2 separate regions of the Homo sapiens genome follow, and region 1 is linked to region 2. The links are contacts of gene promoters, found by promoter capture Hi-C in human tissues and cell types (Jung and others, 2019). All regions are on one chromosome and are shown on one strand. Each heading gives the region's core, a stretch centred on a gene start or on the middle of the fragment in contact. The rest is flanking DNA. Distances are from core to core; before and after follow the strand shown.

The links. Contacts are between HindIII fragments. The study calls those that stand out against the background at their distance.
Region 1: a fragment that was not itself captured here is called in contact with the fragment with the promoter of TTR in region 2 in 1 of the 25 tissues and cell types used here (lymphoblastoid cells).

What each region holds. Positions count from the first base shown.
Region 1 is chr18:32,103,690-32,107,312 of GRCh38, reverse strand. The region is part of intron 2 of RNF138 (ring finger protein 138); the gene reads right to left. Among named protein-coding and RNA genes, the nearest start is that of RNF138, 14 kb to the right of the region's middle. RefSeq lists an enhancer at 502-601. The HindIII fragment of the contact is 6,388 bases long and covers 1-3,623 here.
Region 2 is chr18:31,589,780-31,593,126 of GRCh38, reverse strand. It overlaps TTR (transthyretin), which reads right to left and starts at 1,250. Exons shown (of 4, transcript NM_000371.4): 1 at 1,156-1,250; 2 at 101-231. The coding sequence starts at 1,224. The HindIII fragment of the contact is 7,126 bases long and covers 1-3,311 here.

The sequences.
Region 1 (3,623 bases), core at 778-3,277, 510 kb before region 2:
GTCTCTACTAAAATACAAAAAAAAATTAGCTGGGCGTGGCAGCGTGCACCTGTAGTCCCAGCTACTCAGGAGGCTGAGGCAGGAGAACTGCTTAAACCCGGGAGGCAGAGGTTGCAGGGAGCCGAGATCGCGCCACTGCACTCCAGCCTGGGTGACAGAGCGAGATTCCGTCTCCAAAAAAAAAAAAAAAAAAAAAGGAAAAAAGGAAAGTGAATTTAACCAGAGACAGTTAACACACAAGAGCCCTAATCCAGTGGCCCAGTAGCCATAGGAGACAGAAAGAGAAAATTATTTTCAAAGAAACAAAAGGAGAAAGTGAGAGTGTGAGGGGAATTTCCAGAGCTAAAAAATATGTCAGCAGAATAGAGACAAGTGAAGGACCTGTACAATAAATTTAAGAGTCACAACCAGAGAGATTACTGGAAAAACTTCAAATAATAATTTTTCAGCCGGGCGCGGTGGCTCACGCCTGTAATACCAGCACTTTGGGAGGCCGAGGCAGGCGGATCACGAGGTCAGGAAATCAAGATCATCCTGGCTCTAACACGGTGAAACCCTGTCTCTACTAAAAATACAAAAAATTAGCTAGGCATGGTGACGGGCGCCTGTAGTCCCAGCTACTCAAGAGGCTGAGGCAGGAGGATGGCGTGAACCTGGGAGGCGGAGCTTGCCATGAACCGAGATCGCACAACTGCACTCAAGCCTGTGTGACAGAGCGAGACTCCATCTCAATAAACAAATAAATAAATAAATAAATAAATAAAATAAAATAAAAAATAATTTTTCAACTTCTAGTATCTTCCAGAGAGGAAGTAAAAATAGATCACCTACTAAGGAAAGAGAATCAGATTAGCATCAAACTCATGAGCAATAACAAATGACAAATAGAATGATGTGTTCAAAGTTCTGAGGAGAAATGATTTATAACCTAGAACTGCATCTTCTGGATATTAAATCATTTTGTATCACTTAAGGCATTTCTGATATAATGTAACATATGAAACACTGAAAACCTTGGCATTCTGCATACCCGCACACTAAAACTTATAGGGCTTATGGAAAAAAATGGTTGGAATAGACCACTCGTGCAACCTTGTCGCCAGACTACTAACAAAACCCAAACAATCCAAATAAAAATACGAACAATTCTGAAAAGGTATGTAAAGTTCCTAATAAACACTTCACCCTAAAATTTTTTTAAAAGAAGAGAGGGATAAGTGGTTGAAGCTGTTAAATTATGGAAATAAATTTAAAATGCACAAGGGAAAGGAGAAACATGCAATAGGTATTCCAAGAGAGAACTCATAGCCAAACTGAACTAAGAAGAATGAATGTTGGGCACCTTGTGTCATAGTGCTTAATTCTATGGTTTGTTATATTCAGCTATGTTTTGATGTGCTTTGCTTCAGCTACCATTTGTTGATGGACCAAAACAATTTTCAGGGGGAAAAAAGTCACATAGAAAGCTATCTGTTCTGATATAATCTGTTGCAGCAAGTAGAACAGACGACATTCAGTCCATCATTTGTCTTTAACCTTGCTGCTTGTGGTCTTCCGATATGGAAATTTTTTAACTTTTAGACATGGCCTTTTCCTAAAATTATGGTTTATGCTTTTGCAGTCTTAAGAATTCCCCACTTCAGGATCAGAGATATTCCCCCACATTTCCTTCTAAAGTTTAAGCTTTGCTCATTAAAGTTTTCAATCCATCTGGAAATATTATCATGTATAGCACACAGCAGAGATTCTACATATAAAGCTATTGCCCAAATACTATCTTACTGATCAAAGCCACCTTTTCCTCATTCATTTGCAATGTCACGTCTATCAAAGATAAAAAGTTCCAAAACGTGTGGAACTATTTCTGGACTCTGTAGTATATTCTAGTCATTTATCTACTGCTGAATGAACACCATACGATTTGGCCAGTGCGGTGGCTCATGCCTGTAATCCCAGCACTTTGGGAGGCCGAGGTGGGTGGATCAATTGAGGTCAGGAGTTCAAGACCAGCCTGGCCAACATGGTGAAACCTGTCTCTACTAAAAATACAAAAATTAGCCATGTATGGTGGCAGGTGCATGTAATCCCAGCTACTCAGGAGGCTGAGGCAGGAGAATCACTTAAACTCAGGAGGCAGAAGTTGCAGTGAGCCAAGATGGTGCCACTGCACTCCAGCCTGGGGGACAGAGGGAGACTCCATCTCAAAAAGAGAAAAAAGCATATGATTTTTTAATTTTCATTTTGTATTTTTATATTTTTAATTTAATAATACTTTCACAGGAAAATCAAAGAAGCCAACCATACTAATTACTATTGTTTCATAATATCTCATTATATCTGATAGGGTTGTGCTATCTGCATGTTCTTCTTTTTCAAATATTTTCTTAGTTATTCATAATCATTAGCTCTTTATTAGAATTTTTTAATCCATTTTTCAAGTTCTACCAAAAAATCATGTTGGGACTTCACCAGAACTGTATGTTTAGAACTGTGTGGAGAAAATTGATACCTTAAATTTATTAAATCTTTCTAACCATAAATGTCATGTTCTCTTACACTTTTCAATAAAGTTTTGTAATTTTCTTTAAGAAGCTGTGTATATTTTTATTGTTTAGTCCAAATAACATTATAATTTTGTTGCTATTGTAAGTGACGTTTTTCTTCTATTAATTTTTTATCTGATTACTGCTGGTATAAAGATATGTTGTTGATTTTTGTCTGTTCTTGCATCAAACCTCCCTGTACTCTTATTGTTTCTCTTGTTTTTAATCGACAAATTATGACAATTTTATCTCTTCCTTTTCCATCTCTGTGTATCTGATTTCTTCTTCTCTCACTGAATTGTCTAAAACCTGAAATACAATGTTAAATGTCAGGGGTGATGCAGACTTCTTTGACTAGTTCCTAACTAGAAAAGCACCTAAAGCTTACAACTAGGTATATTTGCTATAGATTTTAGGGAAGCCACCCTTAATGAGGATTTTTTTTTTTAAACTTTTAGGCCAGGTCTGGTGGCTTATGCATGTAATCTCAGCCCTTTGGGACGCCGAAGTGGGGGGATCATTTGACCTCAGGAGTTCGAGACCAACCTGGCCAACATGGTGAAACCCTGTCTCTACTAAAATACAAAAATTCGCCAGGCATGGTGGCATATACCTGTAATCCCAACTATTTGGGAGGCTAAGTCACTAGAATTGCTTGAACCCAGAAGGCAGAGGTTGCAGTGAGCCAAGATCAGGCCACTGCACTCTGGCATGGGCGACAGAACTAGACTCTGCCTCCAAAAAAAAAAAAAAAAAGTTTTTTAGCCTATTCCTAATTTGCTATGAAGTTTTCTTTTTTTTTTCTGAGACGGAGTCTTGCTCTGTCGCCCAGGCTGGAGTGCAGTGGCGCAATCTCAGCTCACTGCAAGCTCTGCCTCCAGGGTTCACACCATCTCCTGCCTCAGCCTCCCGAGTAGCTGGGACTACAGGTGCCCGCCACCGCGCCCGGCTAATTTTTTTTTGTATTTTTAGTAGAGATGGGGTTTCACCATGTTAGCCAGGATGATCTCGATCTCCTGACCTCGTGATCCACCCGCCTCGGCCTCCCAAAGTGCTGGGATTACAGGCGTGAGCCACCAC
Region 2 (3,347 bases), core at 1-2,500:
TGTAAATTCTTTAGCAGATGATGTGAGCCTCTCTCTACCAAGTGAGGGGCAAACGGGAAGATAAAACCAAGTCCTGTGGGAGGGTTCTTTGGCAACTTACCCAGAGGCAAATGGCTCCCAGGTGTCATCAGCAGCCTTTCTGAACACATGCACGGCCACATTGATGGCAGGACTGCCTCGGACAGCATCTAGAACTTTGACCATCAGAGGACACTTGGATTCACCGGTGCCCTGGGTGTAGAGAAGACACGTGAGAAGTTAACAAAATTGATCAGAGTGAAAGGATTTATTCTTTGTGGTATTAGAAATCTGGAGCGAAACAAGAATTACACACTGATCCCATTATCAGGAACGTAAGTGTCGACAATTAATGAGCTTCCCTACTCAGTATAACACAGACGTAATTGTTTCCAAAGCAAGAATGGTTTCTGCCTCCAGACACACTGCTATCAACCAGGGATGTGTATAATGAATTTTAAGGGAGAAAATAGGTCCCCTGAGAACAGTTGCTTTGTTAAAAGTCTCCATTTGAGTGGAATTACTGAAAAGATGTAATGTACCATACATAGGGCCAAACAGGTTTTCCTGAGATCATTTTAGTTGTTGCTATAGTCACTCCCTCTTACCAGTTGTTATAAAATAATGTCAGAACTACATCCAGACCCATTTTATAGTATTAGTTAATTCTTCTAGAGGATTTAAGAATTAGATATCTGACTAGAATATTGTTCACTAAGCCTTTTAAAGATTAATCAATAAATACGTTTTGAATAACTATAGGGCCAGAATATAATCTCCTGCAGTTTGTCCCCCAAATACATTTTATGGAGGGATACTTTTCTGAAAATTCAGTATTAACAGCTTCCTTAATATCATATCTTTATTTCTATCATCTATCTGAGGAAACAGAGGTACCAGATATTACAAACCTAATGCACCAAAGCAATGAGGTAGAATGCTCAGAGTTCAAGTCCCAGCTCAGTAAGCTCAGTGGAACTTCATTCTTTTTGAAGTTTGAATTAATTATATTAAAAATAGATGCTGGGTACCCTTGCCCTAGTAATAAAAGCTGGTTGGCAAAGCTGGAAGGAGTCACTTCTACTTCATTTAGCGTGAATCTTAAATGTAGGAATGGGATGTCACAGAAACACTCACCGTAGGGCCAGCCTCAGACACAAATACCAGTCCAGCAAGGCAGAGGAGGAGCAGACGATGAGAAGCCATCCTGCCAAGAATGAGTGGACTTCTGTGATGGCTGCTCCCAGCCTGGGGCTTTTATACTCACTTCTCCTGAGCTAGGCTGCTTATCCCTGCCAATCTGACTGCAAACCTGCTGATTCTGATTATTGACTTAGTCAACAAAGAGAGAATAAGTAACCCATACAAATATGAACCTTGTCTAGAGAGATTAGAGCATCGGAACATTCGTTCTATGAAATATTCTTAATAGGTCATTTGACCAGTTAGGTCACCAAAACAAAACAACCAAAACAAAACAAAACAATCAAAACAAAACAAAAATAGTCTTCTCCCTGTGTGACTGCGTGCACTAACATTCTTGGGGGTAATTTTTTCCTCCCTCACATATTTCTATGCATGTTTTCCATTTTTATAGATTTTTTGTCTCTCATTTTAGATGCAAGATTTTAGACAGATGCAAGTTGTAATAATGTATTTCATGTTGAATGACATCTAGCTGCACAGGCTTAAATATAGTGCATTAGAAAATGTTTGCACTTGATGGATCCATGGGTCAACAAGGAAAAACCCTTGGCAGTGCTCACATTTTTAAAAGCCTACATTTTAGCCAAACTAAGTCATTTGGAAGCTTTGCTTAGTCAGCAATTTCTCCACAATGTGTGTGTGCATGTGTGTATGTGTGTGTGTGTTCTGCCCAGATAAAGTCCACTTCAATCTAAGAATGGCATCTTCCCTCCCTCCCTTCCTTCCTTCCTTTTTTCCTTCCTTTTTTTTTTTTTTTTTGACAGGGTCTCACTCCAACGCCCTGGCTCGAGTGCAGTGGCACGATCACAGCTCGCTGCAGCCTTGACCTCCCGGGCTCAGGTCATCCTCCCACCTCAGCCTCTTGCCCAGGCTGGTCTCGAACTCCTGAGCTCAAGCAATCCACCCGCTTTGGCCTTCCAAAGTGCTGGGATTACACGTGTGAGCCACTGAGCTGGGCCAGAATGGCATATTTCAACCTGGCATTGATGCCCCTGAAATACAGAGAACCAAATCTTCTTTACTGACTCTTCTGCATTGGGCATGCAGGAACAAGGCTGACAGCTGGTTTTTGACAGAACCAAACTTGCTGGAAGAAAGTAGAGATGACTGTGAGAACCAGAAGCCATGATTGACAGCAGATTCTTTTCCTCCTGGCCGACTTATTAATACAAGTCCAGAAATTATGATGATTTGATGATTCATTACTCACATACAAAGTCTCTGTGTGTATGTGTGTGTGTGTGTGTGTGCGCGCGCACGCGCATGTGTGTGTGTGTCCACTAGCATGCGTGGCTTTGTTCATGGATAAACTAAGGCAGGTTTTTGTCCTTATAAGACAAACATGTAGAAAACATAGAGAAGACAAATATTTTGGACAAATACAAGCCAAGAGCAAGTCCGGTTTGGAGCACTAAGAATTGAGGGAACATTCCCATAACTGATAGAGTCAGATTAGAAAAAATTCAACAAGAAATTGTGAAGCACAGGAGCTTACAGGGAGTAGTGGAAGGGACAGAAAAGCCTTTCAGGAACATGAGAATGTGCAGGAGAGGACTCCGGGAGGTGGGTTGACCCCTCACAGCAATGAGCAAATGTAGTTGAGACCATAACTAGGAATGGAGTCTTAGACCCTTAGAGTTTAACTAGGAAGCAGCAGCAGAAAGACTTTTGCATTTGGAGTTGGATGACCAGAGTCATTCGATCCCAGTTCTGCTGCCCCGTTTCCCGGATGACCTTCTATGAGTTATCTACTATCTCAGATACTCGGCCAACTCGTTTGTAAAATAGAAATGCCTACTTTTCTACTTCAAAGGACTGTTCTAATAACTTTTAATATGAGAGGATGTACAAGCCTTTTGTAAGCTGTAAACCACTATCTTGCTGTAAAAGCATAACTAATAGAATTTGGTTCAACATCTATGCCTCAGGAGAGAATCCTTTCTCAAATAACATCTTTCATATATTGTCATCCAATATCCTCTTGATGATTTCCTATTGTTCAGAACCTGGATAGAGAGCCTTTTCTCTGGCTATGAATCATAAATATTTGGAAGTTCTTTCATAACCGAAGCAAAATCTACTGTGCACGCGTTTCAGCACTGCACCCTGTTGAAACTAAGAAT